Linked DNA regions of Homo sapiens: all the other regions are linked to region 1. Evidence: promoter capture Hi-C in 16 types of primary human blood cells and fetal thymus (Javierre and others, 2016). All regions are on one chromosome and are shown on one strand. Each heading gives the region's core, a stretch centred on a gene start or on the middle of the fragment in contact. The rest is flanking DNA. Distances are from core to core; before and after follow the strand shown. Region 1 holds the start of MEGF8 (multiple EGF like domains 8). Region 2 overlaps DMRTC2 (DMRT like family C2). Region 3 overlaps GRIK5 (glutamate ionotropic receptor kainate type subunit 5). Region 4 overlaps GRIK5 (glutamate ionotropic receptor kainate type subunit 5).

Region 1 (3,514 bases), core at 618-3,117:
CAGATTCCTATTGGTCCTTTAAGTCTCAGCTTAGACATTTCCTCCTCCAGGAAGCCTCTCTGTTCTCCCCGGCCCCAGATCAGGCACTTTCTCTGGGCTCTCCCAGGCCTCTGGGGTTCCTCCATCAAAGACCACTCTTGTCTCTCACTATTAATGTGTTTGTCTCCCCAACTAGACTCCAAGACCTAAGTCACCAGGGATTGCTGGAGCTGTCTCAGTCTGGGCTATGTCCAATGGGAAACATAATGTCTGGCACATGAATGACTGAAGAAAAATGCTTTTATTGAAGTACTTCACAAATAACAACAACAATAATCCTAATGCCATTTATTGAACAGTTACTATATGCCACACATCAGGCATGTTAAATACCTGTTTTCATTTCATTCCAACAACTCTATGAGGTGAGTACTGTTGTTATCCCATTTGTGGGGGAAGGAAACAGAACCTCAGAGAAAGAAAACCACCTGCTCAAAGTCACAAAGCTAATAATAAGAAGCCAGGCACAGTGGCTCACACCTACAATCCCAACACTTTGGGAGGCTGAGGTGCGAGGATCGTTTGAGCCCAAGAGTTCAGGACTAGCCTGGGCGACATGGTGAGACTCTGTCTCTACACACTCAGTTACTTGGGAGGCTGAGGTGGGAGGATCACTTGAGCCCAGGAGGTCGAGGCTGCAGTAAGTAAATTGTGTTGGTACCATTGCACTCCAGCCTGGGTGACAGAGTGAGGCCCCCATCTCAAAAAAAAAAAAAAAAAAAAGTAGTAGTAGTAGAACCAAATTCAAAGCCAAATGATTGGACCCAGACCCTGAGTTCTTAACAGTTACTCAGAAGGCCCGGCACTGATGCTCCTGTCTTGTAATTGTAAATCTGGGTGTAGGTGCATCTCCCCCACCAGACTTGGAGGCCTTCCAGGGCAGGGCCCAGGTTGGCTGCAACCCTGGGTGTCAGGCATTTTAGAGCAAAAGGCCTGGACCAGAACCGAGCTCTGGGAATGTGGTGAGTGGATGAATGCACACATGAATGAACTACCAGCGAATTAGTGAGTGACCCACGCGGCCCCACTCACCCTCGATGAGCCACTCGCAGTTGCCATTGACGCTGTAGTTGCCCGCACCATCCGTCACGAAGCCTGGCGCCTCCCGCAGCACCTGCCGCTGCCCCTTGCAGTCCCCCGCCCGGGCCCCAGGGGACAGCGACCCCAGCACGGCCAAGGCCAAAACCAGTGCCATGGCCAGAACCTTGCCCAGGGCCATCGCCGCCTCCTGCACTGACCCTTAGAGCGGGGACAGGCCGTAAAAACCTGGAGAGGACCCTCTACCCGGGGTGAGGCCCTGCAAATGCGACCTCTATAGGCATAACATGACCTTGTAGATCGAAGAGGTCCCGGAGACCCGGCAGTCCCGGCGAAGGGTACGGCCACTGCTGACAGGCTCTGGAAGCCGAGGGCTGAGCCCTATAGAGCGATGGAAGGCCCTGTATATGGAGTCATTATGGACGGGGCCGAACCCTAGGGACCGTAGGAGTCCCCTATAGACACAGGGCTCCATAGGGGGCCGATCCCATGAACAGTGCCCAGCATTACGGACTCAGGCTGCTGCAGGCCAAACGGACCTTATAGACGGGTGGGTCCCCAGGGGGCGAAGGGCTCTACGGCCCGGCAGGAGCCTCCATAGAGGCTGCGGGCCGGGACAGGCTAGGTTCGGATGGTCCAGGAGAGACTCCTCCAGCCGGGGGCGGGGCGCGAGCGGGTGCCGGGGGCGGAGCCCGTCTTCAGGGGTTCGGGCCTGGACCCCACAGACCCAATCCCTTTGCTCACCCACCCTCGCCTCCCTCCGAAGCCGGATGGGCCAGATCAGAGAGACGAGGGGACGCTTGGGCCAGAGCGGCCGCGGGAAGACCCGCTGTGGGAGGGCGAGGGGGCGGGAGCCGAGCAGCCGCTGTGGGAGGGACGGCGAAGAGGAGGCGAGAAGTTACAGAGCGGCCGGTCAGAGCGGCCCTGGGAGGACTGCGGAGCGCCCAACCCCAACCCTCCATAAAGGGAGACTTCCGGGGAAATCCCCGCCCATTTGTTCCCAACCGCATGCGCAGCAGCGTCCTCCTGGAGGGAGAGAAATACACATATGCGCAGTGCTAAGATCGTAACCCAAACTCTGGGTGCCTGTGGTTCAGCAAAGCATGGGCCACTGGAGGGCGCCTCTACCTCTGAGTGAGGAAAGGAAGGCAAAAATAAAGGAGCGGTGCAAGACCCTGCTAGATGTTTGATCATCTTCAATGTTCCCACATTCTGGGGCAACATAAAGATCAGGTTATACAGGCCCCTGCCTCCGGTTCCAAATTCCCATTTCACAGATGGACACACTGAGGTCCCGAGCCTGACATAGTTCTGGCTCAGCCCCGCCGCTGAACACCATCAAGATGCAAAAGAAGCCATGTTATAGATAAAAACGAATCCTTTTTTATTTTGGCAAGAAGGGGTAAAATGTCTTTCTGCCAGGGACCCGAGGGAAGGCCCCCGGAATGGAGATGCGGCAGATGGAGTACGGGTCCGAGGTCACAGATCCGAGGGAGGGTTTCAGGGTCGAGACCAGCATCGCAATATCCATCCCGGGGTCGCAGAGTCCTGGAGAGTCACAGGCAGGGTCCCGGCGGTCACCACGGGTGTTCCGGAGTCCAGCGGGGTCAGAGGTCTCGAAGGGGGCCAGGGGGCCGGAGGTCACGGAACAGCGGGAGCCCAGAATCCGGCGCCGCTCGGGGCAGGGGCTGAGGGAGGGGACGGGGAGAGCGGCTCCCGCGGGACCGTTTGGCACAGAGGGGAGGGGGGCGGGACGCAGCGTACCCAACCTGGGCGCGCGGGGTGGGAAGGGTCGGGAAGGCCGGGGATGGGCGAGCTCTCGGGCCGGGATAAAGCAGGGGTCCGGAGCCCGGCCGGGGCCCGGTCATGGCCCATGGGGCAGGGGCGGGCAGGGGTGCTCAGACCGGGGGTGCAGTGCCCCCGGCCGTGTGCATGCTGAAGTATTCGGTGAAGCCGGTGTGCGGCGCTGCCGTCTGGGGCACGAGCGGCTGGTAGGGCGGCGTCGGGCCGTCCCAGCCCGAGTCGGCCGCCTTGGGGAACCGAGCGGGAAGTGGGGGGGAGGCTGCGCCCGGCTCGGCCATGGTCACCACGCGGCCCCTCGGGGCCACCGCCGCCGCCACCGCTGTCTCCTCCACCTGCTTCCCGGCCTGGGAGGGGGGTCAGGGTCAGAGGCCGTCCGGGACCCTCGGGGGGCAGATGCGGCCCCGAAGGCCCGTCCCCCTCCCCCGGAGAACCCTTCCACCCCAGGTGTGGACGCACGTTGTCAGTCAGGGAAGGACTGGGTGGCGGGGCGCCTGGGCAGCGGGGCCAGGTACTCAAAGGGCGGCGTCGGGGCGCGCGGGGCGAACTCCGGCGGCGGCCGGGGAGCTGGGGGAGAGCCGCGGAAGGCGGGCGGTGGGGGCACGGCGCAGGGAGTCTGCGGGGGTGTGCGCAACAG
Region 2 (3,514 bases), core at 301-2,800, 470 kb after region 1:
TTTCATGCCATCCTTTAACCCCAAATTATACTTTCTCTTTTACCCTTCTCAGCTCTGTGACCTTGGTGTACAGAGGACCCTTGGTCAGTGCTGAGTAGCAGAATCTCAGCCATGTTGCATGTTGCAGTGCTTCCTTTCTCTGTGACTTTGTGGCCCTGGTCATCTGTCACTAGGAAAGCATGGCACACCAAGTCTTAGGCAGGTCTATTAAGGAGCAATCATATATCTAAGTTATAGCTAAGGGGAGGGAAGAAGGGTGTGAAGCCGACTTTGGTCTCCTGATATCTCAGTATCTCCTGAGAAGTGCTGCAGGTTTGTTACTCTGTACTCTGCTAGGGAGGAGAAGAAACCCACCCTCTCAAAATCCCAAATAAGAAATAACAAGTTGTAATTGGATGTCATCACCATCAATCATCTTGAGTAAAACAAGGGGTGTAGGTAACATCAGGAAAAAGAATCAGTGATCAAGCACATCCCTTGAGCCCCTTCTAAGGGTGGGAATGGGAAGGGGGTCTCCAGGCTTCATGTCTTTGGAATAGCTCAACAGGTTTTCCTATGTACGGAATGGTTCAAGGAGAAGGACTTGACACCAGAGGACTGAGAAACAAATGCAGGTAAGATCTTATTCTTAATGATATCTTGAGGAGAAAAATAAAAGACTTTTTTGAAAAACTCTTGACTTGTATGTATCTTCTGGAGTCCTGATTGGGGAAAGGAGTGGTGCATCTTTCATTCTATGCTTTTATTTATTTGTTTTTATAGAGACAGGGTCTCCCCGTGTTACTCAGGCTGGTCTCAAACTCCTGGGCTCAAGCGATCCTCCTGCCTTGGCCTCCCAAAGTGCTGGGATTACAGGTGTGAGCTATCACACCCGGCCCAATGCTTTATAAACATTATTAACTAATTTGGAGCCTGGCAAAGAGAAGGAACCCTCCTCTGATCTCTGCCTAGAAATTTCCCCTAAAACACTTGGGCAAGTTACTTTACCTCTTTAAGCTTGTTTCTTCACTTGTAAAATGGGAACCATCCTGCATAACTTCCAGGGTTGCTGTGAAGATATGTGAATCAAATGGAGTGGGCACTCAATAAATGGTAATAAATGTTTCTTAACCTTTTATGGATCCTTCGAAACTCAGACACGTGAACCTCCCTAGTTGAGGAAAAACTTGTGATAAAGACTAACTCGATTCTTTCTATTCTGGTTAGCCTCAATTTCCCCATCTGGAAAATGTATCAAATTGGTATTCCACTGGCCAAAGCTAGCCTGAAAATATGTTTTATTTGGCACGTATAGAATTTAAAGAAGAAAACTGAGCCAACATTTGAAAATTAAGATGTTTTACATGGAAATCTAGTTTTCCAGTTTCTCTTAAAAAATCAGAAGATGGAGCAACACTGAGTCCACATTCCCGCCTGGCAGTAATCTGCTAGGGCCAAAAGGAGGCTGCTCCTTAGGCAAGGCATCCATTCTCAGTTTGCCAGGGTCCATCTGGCCTTCTTTACTCATTTATTTGATCTGCTCAGCCCTGTAGGCATTTCGATTTGTAGCCCCTCTAGACAGCTGGAAACTGTCTATGCCTGGCACAGAGCGGGCAATTAATCAGTGAATCCCCCATTATTTCTTTACATCATTTTTTTTTATTTGGACAAAGAAAAAAATCCAAGTTTGTTTTCATCTATGGTAGCTATTGGATAACAGATTTTTCACTTTGAGAAGCGAAATGAACAAGTCCTTTCTGTCAGTCAGGATAGACTAGGTTAGGCTGTGGTAACACTCTCCAAATCTCAGTGGCTTACAACAACAAAGGTTTATTTCTTGCTTACTCACACAAACCTAGACACAAAATGAAAACACTCTCCTGTTTTCACATGCATGGAGACAGACATGAATGCATAGGCATTTACAGAATCATGGAATCCTGGGATGTAAACTCATGCAAACACGTTTATAGATACTGGTCAGCTTAAATAGCACAACTCTCTCTTTATTGGGGATTTCAAGAGATCCCAGGACCCAAGAAGGGTACAAGAATATCCACTGTCAGCCAAGGAAATGCCCACACTACCAAAGGAACTGAAAGCTAATGAAGCACCTGAAAGCTTAAACAAACAAACAAACAAACAAACAAAAAAGCCCGAAGCTTGTACTACATTAAATTCCATGCATAAATCCTTAAGTAAGACACTAAATATACAGTGCCAGCAGGCTGTCACCTCCCTGCCATAGCAAGACAGCCTCCATCTCTGGGTTTCTAGCTCAGGAGGGAGATGGACCCCAGACGGCCAATATGCAGAGCAACAGAGGGGGCTGGGCTGGGTCGAAGACAGGGGCCAACAGGCTGGAATCCTCTTCCTCCAGCAGGAGCTACAGGCAAGAAGGAAGGGGCAGGATCAGGTCACACCTGTTTTTCCTTCTAGCAACCCCCTCTTTTTACCGAATCCAATCCAGGCCTCATCATTGTTCTCCTGGATTATTTCACAGACCTCCTTGCTAATTTTCCCACCTCCAGTCTTGCCTCCTCCAAACCGTCCATCAAAGCCACCCACTTGTCTTTCTAAAGCTCAGGGTCTCTGAATTTGTCCTTGCTTAGTTCAGAAACGTTCCCTGGCTCCCCTTCACATACAGTTGCTGTTCTAGACACCTAAGCCTGGCATGCCAGATCTCCACCATCAGAAGCCTCTCCAGCCTCCTTTCCCTCTGTTCTAGCATTTCCTCCAGGCCAGTCTGCCCAATCCACTATTTGGACAAGAGAATTCGCAGCTTTCCCTGTCTGTCCCCCTAGGTGTTTCTCACTCTTCAAGGTTCCTCCAATCTTCTTCAGGTTTGTCACTGAGCCTTGTGAAGGCATCCAATTTCCCTAACTAGAACGTAAGCTCCTTGAAGGCACTTATCAGACCTCCTCCCAGGCCAGACCCCACTTCAGACTTCAGCAGGCAGCCTGGGTCCAGAGACAGAGCATTGGGTTCCCTGCCACTGTCTCACTATATGCCCTTGGGCAAGTCCCTGCCTTTCTCAGTGCCCCACTTTCCTTGATATCAAGAAATTTGCTGTCGAGTGCCAAACTGATAAAAAGGATTCACTGAATAACTCTCAACTGCAATCCCAGGGGCCAGGCTGAGGAGCTTGGGGTCCTGGGCCTGAAGACGTTCAACCTGTCGACCCCCTCATCTCCTTGGTTAGTCCCTGTGTACTTCAGTGATCTCCATTTCCCAGCCATCCCTATCCATCCTCTCCTTTCATGGCCCACCTGGTGGGCCACAGGGGTGAAGCAGGGAGATCCAGGCAGGGTTGGGGGGCACAGAAGGGGTCACACGAGGAGCCTGGGATGAATCTTTCAGCCCCACGAGGGCTTCAGCTGCCTCTTGCTGCAGCTGCCACTCTGAGGGGCCAGATGTCCGGGCCAGGCACGAGGCTCCAGAGGCCTGCAAGGGAAAGGGAGACAAGCAGACTGGGAACCCCCGCTTCTGCCCACCCTCTAAGTGTTCCTCAGCCCCTGCTTCCTTCAGTTTCCTG
Region 3 (3,514 bases), core at 262-2,761, 320 kb after region 1:
AGGCCAGAGTGCAGTGGTGATCTCGGTTCACTGCGACCTCCACCTCCTGGATTCCAACGATTCTCGTGCCTCAGCCTCCCAAGTAGCTGGGATCACAGGCGTGTGCTATCACACCCAGCTAATTTTTGTATTTTTAGTAGAGACGGGGTATTGCCATGTTGGCCAGGTTGTCCTTGAACTCCTGGCCTCAAGCAATCCGCCCACCTCAGCCTCCTAAAATGCTGGGATTACAGGTGTGAGCCACCGTGCCCAACCTGGTATTTTTTTAAAAAATTATGTAATAGGCCGGGCACAGTGGCTCATGCCTGTAATCCCAGCACCTTGGGTGGGCGAGGTGGGCAGGTCACCTGAGGTCAGGAGTTCAAGGCCAACCTGCCAACGTGGTGAAACCTCATCTCTACTAAAAATACAAACATTAGTCAGGCGTGCTGGCAGGTGCCTGTAATCCCAACTACTCAGGAAGCTGAGGCGGGAGAATCACTTGAACCCGGGAGTGGCCAAGATCACACCACTGCACTCCAGCCTGGGTGACAGAGTGAGACTCTGTCTCAAGAAAAAAAAAAAAATTACATAACAGACATTGTTTACATTGCTGAATATATTTTTTTACAGAGTATTTATAAACTTTTTCTGGAATCTAGTTAGGTTACTTGTGAATTACTTTGATACTTCTAGGCCTGTTTTTAAGCTTTTTTAGTGCAGCTTTAGCATTGCCTTTATTCTAGGGCTAACTTAATCCTATTTCTAGTATGTTACACTTTTGGGTCTCTACTGAATGTCTCATGTATTCAATGAAATCTTTCTACTCTGGCTGCAGGGAGCTCAAAAGACTCTCAGCCCTGTGTCAACTCTAAGAATTGTTTTCTCCTTGAAAGTTGCTCTTGTCCAGCCCCACAGAGTTTCACCCCATGCATGCACAGATTGATATTCAGCCAAAGACTCAAGGGGACCACCGGTTTCTGAATCCTCCCTCTCTTTGCAGCTCCCTCCTCTCAGGCACTCTATCCCCCAAATTCCAGCCATGTTGGCCTGCCTGATCACCAGTCTCCGTCTCTGCAACTCAGCAGGATTGCTGGGCTGTTTGGGCTTCCCTTCCTATAAATTAAATCCAGCCAAGCAGCCTGGACAATAAGACTCATTTTGTTTCTCTTCTCAGGGATCACAGTTCTATGATGTCTCTTGTCCTATGTTTTAAATAGTTTCCTGGCCGGGCGTGGTCGCTCACTCCTGTAATCCCAGCACTTTGGGAGGCTGAGGCAGGTGGATCACCTGAGGTCAGGAGTTCGAGACCAGCCTGGCCAACATGGTGAAACCCCGTCTCTGCTAAAAATACAAAAATTAGCCGGGCGTGATGGTGGGCACCTGTAATCTCAGCTACTTGGGAGGCTGAGGCAGGAGAATCACTTGAACCCCAAAGGTAGAGGTTGCAGTGAGCTGAGATCGTGCCACTGCACTCCATCCTGGCTGACAAAGCAAGATCTGTCTCAAAAAAAAAAAAAAAAGAAAAAAGTTTCCTGTATTCTATCCAGCTCTTTAGCTGTTTATGGTGGGAGGGTATTTCCAGACCATCTTACTCTTTTATATCTGGAAGTAGAAGTCTCCGGATGCAATATTTACAACCAGGAAGTCTGGCTTCAGAATCCACACTCCCCGCTTCTGCACCCAGCAGTCACTGAGTCTTCCAGATGCTGGGGTCACTTGGGAGGGGCACCACCAATGGGGGGCATGGCCACGGGGGCAGGTCAGCAGGGGTGACTCCAGCCCGTGACTCACCCCTCCCACCCTTCAGGTGGGCCTTCACCTTGATCATCATCTCCTCCTACACGGCCAACCTGGCCGCCTTCCTCACCGTGCAGCGCATGGAGGTGCCTGTGGAGTCGGCCGATGACCTGGCAGATCAGACCAACATCGAGTATGGCACCATCCACGCCGGCTCCACCATGACCTTCTTCCAGGTGGGGCCACCAGAACCTCTCAGGCGTGGTGTTGGGATCCCTGCCATGCAAAGCAGCTCAGGATGGGTCTGGGCAGGGTCTCCTGGGTCAGAGGGACTGATTGTCAGTGACAGCCTGGAGGCTGGGGAGCAGAAAACACACATGTGCTGTCATGGGGCTCGCAGCTGGCTGGCTAGGGAACTGGGGAATGAGGGCAGGGAGGCATATGTGGTATCAAATGTCAATGTCATATGGGCCAAATGGGATCAAGGAGGCTGCTGGAAGGGTCGGGACCAGGAATATGGGCTGACAGAGAGAAGGGAAGGCCCTTCAAGGTGAAAAGTGCTTGATCTTTTGTATTTTGGGGTGGTGGGAAGGAAAGAAGAGGAAAGCAAGCTTGGCAGGGAGGTCCTAGTGGTCTAAAGGAGGCCTGAGTTGGGCAGCGGCCACCGGCTGGAGGGTTAAGGGGAAGGAGGTGGAGGTGCACTCACCGGGCCCCCCAGGTGGGTGGTGGGCACAGTGGCTGTGGGGATGACTTGGACCTGGCCTGGACAGTTTGTCCATCTCCTCTCTCTCCTCTACCTTTGGCTCTGTCTTCCTTTGATCACCTTGCATTCTCCTGGGTTGAGGGAGACTTCCTGGAGGATGGGAAGGGCTCGGGGAAAGGAAGCGGCTGGAAAGACCCTCCCATCTTCCCCTTGTGATCCTCCTGCCCAGAATTCACGGTACCAAACGTACCAGCGCATGTGGAACTACATGCAGTCGAAGCAGCCCAGCGTGTTCGTCAAGAGCACAGAAGAGGGCATTGCCCGCGTCCTCAACTCCCGCTACGCCTTCCTGCTCGAGTCCACCATGAACGAATACCACCGGCGCCTCAACTGCAACCTCACCCAGATCGGGGGACTCCTCGACACCAAGGGCTACGGCATTGGCATGCCGCTGGGTACGGCACAGCACGGTGTGGAACACAGCAGGGCCGTGGGCATCCAAAACCACCTGTGAGCAGGCCCAGGACCGGGCCAGGCACCCCCGAGGCAGGCTGGGTGTGTTGCATGTGGCCTCCTGGCTGTATGGTCTTGGGCAGGCGACATCACCGTCCTGAGCCTCTGTACCCCCAACCTGCAAAACCAGGCCTAGCAGCAATCCAGCCCTCCCAGAGCTGTTGGGAGAATTCAGTGAGACTGTGTATACAATTCAGTATATGTGGGTGGTGGGGCTTGCTGTCTTCCCCCAAGGGCCCTGTGGGGGTGAGGACCTGGTCTTGTTTCCTATTTCTTGGAAAAATCCTATAGCCTGGCTCAGAGCAGGTGCTTGAAAAATGCTTGTAAGATGGATGGGAAGGATGGAATGATCTGGTAGGGAGACTTGTATGTGCCTATTTATATTTCAGGACAAGTTTGGTGTTTTGTTTTTTTTTTTTTTTTTTTTGAGACGGAGTCTTGCTCTGTCGCCCGCCTTGGCCTCCCAAAGTGTTGGGATTACAGGTATGAGCCACCTCGCATGGCCCAGGACATGTTTTTCCAGGACTCAGTGGTGGAACTCACGACCAAATTGTCACCAAATTTTGGCATTTTGGCTTT
Region 4 (3,514 bases), core at 749-3,248, 290 kb after region 1:
CTGACTTTCAAAAGTTATTTTGACAGAACTTTTTTTCCAATTGCAAACTCCCTCAGAACCCTGGGCAAGAGCAGAGCTGCTCTGGTGAAGGCAGAGATGGGGGTGCCTCCCACCCCACCCCACAGGCAGGTCCCAAGGCGCTGCCCCATAAAGCTGCCAGCTGGTTTGAAAACTTCTGCCCCAGGGTGAGTTTTAAGGTCAGGGTGAATTTTATTATTATTATTATTTTATTTATTTATTTATTTATTTTGGAGACAGAGTCTCCTCTGTTGCCCAGGCTGGAGTGCAATGGCACGATCTCTGCTCACAGCAACCTCTGCCTCCCTGCAACCTCCACCTCCCGGGTTCAAGCGATTCTCCTGCCTCGGCCTTCCGAGTAGCTGGGATTACAGGTGCGCCACCGTGCCTGGCTGATTTTTGTATTTTTTGGAGCAACAGGTTTCATCATGTTGGCCAGGCTGGTCTTGAACTCCTGGCCTCAAGTGATCCGCCCACCTCACCTCCCAAAGTGCTAGGATTACAAGTATGAGACACCACACCCAGCCCAGGGTGAATTTTAAAGCCTGAAGCCCAAAGAGGCCCCGGGTGAGACAGGAGATGAGAAGCCCCAGAGCTGACAGCTCTATGCCCACCTGAGGGCACAGGCTTCCTCGTGACCTGTTTCCACAGCCTGGTCTTTAGTCACGTAGGCTCAGAAATATTCTTTCATCTGGTATCCCAGAAATAAGCAGGCTCCAAGGGAGTAGCCCTGCACCTGAAGTCACTCTAAACTGGATGCCCTTTTTTCACCAACAGAGAAGTCTGGAACAGTTCTTATTTACAGCTGTCTGACCTTTGTGTCTCAGGGCCTACTCAGTAGGGTAGGGTGAGAGGATTTGGGGCCTGGGGCCAGCAAAGTGTGGCAGCTGAGAGTGTCTGTGGTTGGCTGTTTAAAGCTTAGCTCTGCTGTGCACTGGTTGTGTGGCTTTGGGCAAGTGCTTAACATTTCTTTAGGTTGTAGTTTGTTCAACTGTAAAATTGGGGAATAACAGCCCTTTAGCACATAGGGTTGTTTTGAAGAACAACATGCAGTGAAGAACTTAGAACAGGGCCTGGTGCATAGTGGGTGCTGTATGCGTGTGTCCTTTTTTTTTTTTCCTTTGAGACTGGGTCTCTCTCTGTTGCCCAGGCTGGAGCGCAGTAGTGCAATCACAGCTCACTGCAGCCTCCACCTCCTGGGCTCAAGCGATCCTCCCACCTCAGCCTCCCGAGTTGCTGGGACTATAGGCATATGCCATAATGCCTAGGTAATTTTTGTGTTTTTTGTAGAGATGGGGTCTGGCCCTGTTGCCTAGGCTGGTCTTGAACTCCTGGGCTTAAGCAATCCTCCCACCTCAGCCTTCCAAAGTGCTGGGATTATACTATTTTTATTATTGTTATTATTCATACCAGCATGGCCAGCACATACATAGATTTGTGTGTTCATCCATTTTCCATTCAGCCAATGTTTGTTGAGTGCCTACTGTATACCAAGCCCTGTGCTATACCCTGGGGATACCATGGTGAACAAGCCCGATGTGCTCTTACTGAGTGGGCTAAAGGGTTTGGGCCTCAGCAGAAAGCCCATGGGATGCCCTTGAAGAGTTTTGTTTTTGTTTTTGTTTTGAGACGGACTCTGGCTCTGCTGCCCAGGCAGGCTGGAGTGCCATGGGGTGATCTTGGCTCACTGCAACCTCTGCCTCGTGGGTTCAAATGATTCTCCTGCCTCAGCCTCCTGAGTAGCTGGGACTACAGGCGCATGCCACCACACCTGGCTAATTTTTGTATTTTTAGTAGAGATGGGTTTCGCCATGTTGGCCAGGCTGGTCTCAAACTCCTGAACTCAGGTGATCCACCTGCCTCAGCCTCCCAGAGTGCTGGGATTACAGGCATGAGCCACCATGCCCGGCCACCCTTGAAGGGTTTTGATCTGGCTCAAGTGAATTGGCCCTGGGGTTGGGGGAAGCAGTGGTAACAGGAAGACCAGTGAGGAGATAAGGAATGAGCTGGTGGGCCTCAGGCGGGAGAACGTCAGAGCTAGAGACTAGGGGAAGGGCTAAAGAGCACCAGGGCTTGGTGACTGCCTAGGGTGGGGGATGCAGGAGAGGACAGGAGGGAGAGCATTCCTCCTGTGTCTGGCTTGGGCATCTGGGTGATGGCAATGACATTTACAGGGAGAACACTGGAGGAGGAGCTGGAGCGTGAAGGATAGGCGGAGTTTGGCCTTGCCCTGCTGTGGGATAGCCGAGTGTGCCGAGCTGCACAGGAATAGTCACCACCGTCATCACAACAGCAGCAGCTGTCATTTGTTGATTTCACACCATGTGCGAGGAACTTTTCAAGTGTTACTTAACATAATTTTCATAGCAGTCCTTCATGGCCTGAGGATCACTGCCCAGTGTGAGATCTGGAGTCCCCAGTGCACAGGGCTGCAGCCAGGTGTGTCTGACTTAAGGCCCGTGCCCTTTCCAGCCCTCCAGCTGGGAACTTGGGAAGCTCGGAGTACACTGATGGAGTGGCACGCTGTGCCAGGCCCTTGTCTGAGCTTTCTGACTTGTCTCCATCCTTGACTCCTCATGGCCACCCAGTGAGAGAGGGACTGGTATTAGCCCCGTTTTCTCAAATGTACAGTGAGGCATCAAGGTTTCATGTCCAGGCCCATGGCTAGTGACCAGGAGAGCCAAGGTGGGCACCCCATCAGGGTGGCCCAGAGCTGGTGAGTGACTTCCAGATGGAAGACAGCCTGGGGCACCACCATCCTGCCAGTCACCCCTGGGCCAGGCACAGGTCTCCTTGGCCTGTCTTGAATTATGACCCATTTTTTCCACCCAGTGGCCATGGCTGACATTGGCCTTCTCCCTGCCATCACTGCCATGGTGTGAATTCAGGTCCCACCCCTCTCATCAGCCTCCTTACTGGCCTCCTGGCTTCTAGTCTCTCCACTCCCCAGCTTGTCCTCCAATAGAACCTTTCTACAGTGTGAGTCTGATCTGTCACTTGTATGCTTTAACTGAAGCCCCTGAGGCCCTCAGGATAAAGCTTAGCCTTCAAGGGCAAAGAAGATCTTAGGTCAGGGTCCCAGGAAGCTGACTCTGAGATGGAGATGTAGAGGCAGGAGGTGTGATGGCGTGCCCCTGGAAACCTGCCCTGTGCAGGAGGGAAGGAAGCAGGCTTGGGCAGAGGAGTTGAGCTGCGCTGCAGTCACAACTGGGCCTTAGCTGTCCCACAGGCAGCTCTGGAGCTGAGCTGGCCGTCAAGGACCTCCCCCTGTGGTAAGGGTGCCAGGCCTTTAAGCACCCACTGATATGTCACTGGACGTGGGCTGCTCTTGGGGAGAGTCAGGACTTTGGGTGAGGGGACGCTCTTCTACTGACAGAGCTGAGAGCCATCAGCCACCTACACCCTGGGCAGCTGAGGCAATGAGTGCCCCACTCCTGAAACAGAGTCTGGGTAGCCACCATGGAGTCCACTATAGCAGTGCACTGGTTAGGAGCCA

Evidence for each region. The method cuts DNA at HindIII sites, captures the fragments that hold promoters and counts their contacts. A CHiCAGO score of 5 or more calls a contact.
Region 2: a fragment that was not itself captured here is called in contact with the fragment with the promoter of MEGF8 in region 1 in 4 of 17 cell types (total CD8 T cells, fetal thymus, total B cells and 1 more); the score reaches 6.0 in total CD8 T cells.
Region 3: a fragment that was not itself captured here is called in contact with the fragment with the promoter of MEGF8 in region 1 in 1 of 17 cell types (fetal thymus); the score reaches 5.3 in fetal thymus.
Region 4: a fragment that was not itself captured here is called in contact with the fragment with the promoter of MEGF8 in region 1 in 4 of 17 cell types (total CD8 T cells, erythroblasts, naive B cells and 1 more); the score reaches 6.0 in total CD8 T cells.

The regions. Positions count from the first base shown.
Region 1 is chr19:42,323,988-42,327,501 of GRCh38, reverse strand. MEGF8 (multiple EGF like domains 8) reads right to left here and starts at 1,867. Exons shown (of 42, transcript NM_001271938.2): 1 at 1,072-1,867. The coding sequence starts at 1,258. It overlaps TMEM145 (transmembrane protein 145), which reads right to left. Exons shown (of 15, transcript NM_173633.3): 15 at 2,438-2,765. The coding sequence ends at 2,685. RefSeq lists silencers at 1,202-1,271, 1,282-1,351, 1,572-1,711, 1,752-1,941. The HindIII fragment of the contact is 9,695 bases long and covers 1-3,514 here.
Region 2 is chr19:41,850,435-41,853,948 of GRCh38, reverse strand. It overlaps DMRTC2 (DMRT like family C2), which reads right to left. Exons shown (of 9, transcript NM_001040283.3): 8 at 3,249-3,423; 9 at 1,616-2,365. The coding sequence ends at 2,253. Among named protein-coding and RNA genes, the nearest start is that of DMRTC2, 7.2 kb to the right of the region's middle. The HindIII fragment of the contact is 1,104 bases long and covers 999-2,102 here.
Region 3 is chr19:42,005,086-42,008,599 of GRCh38, reverse strand. GRIK5 (glutamate ionotropic receptor kainate type subunit 5) reads left to right here. Exons shown (of 20, transcript NM_002088.5): 16 at 1,790-1,955; 17 at 2,652-2,877. Among named protein-coding and RNA genes, the nearest start is that of ATP1A3, 13 kb to the right of the region's middle. The HindIII fragment of the contact is 1,642 bases long and covers 691-2,332 here.
Region 4 is chr19:42,037,607-42,041,120 of GRCh38, reverse strand. All of the region lies in intron 12 of GRIK5 (glutamate ionotropic receptor kainate type subunit 5), which reads left to right. Among named protein-coding and RNA genes, the nearest start is that of GRIK5, 31 kb to the left of the region's middle. The HindIII fragment of the contact is 2,122 bases long and covers 938-3,059 here.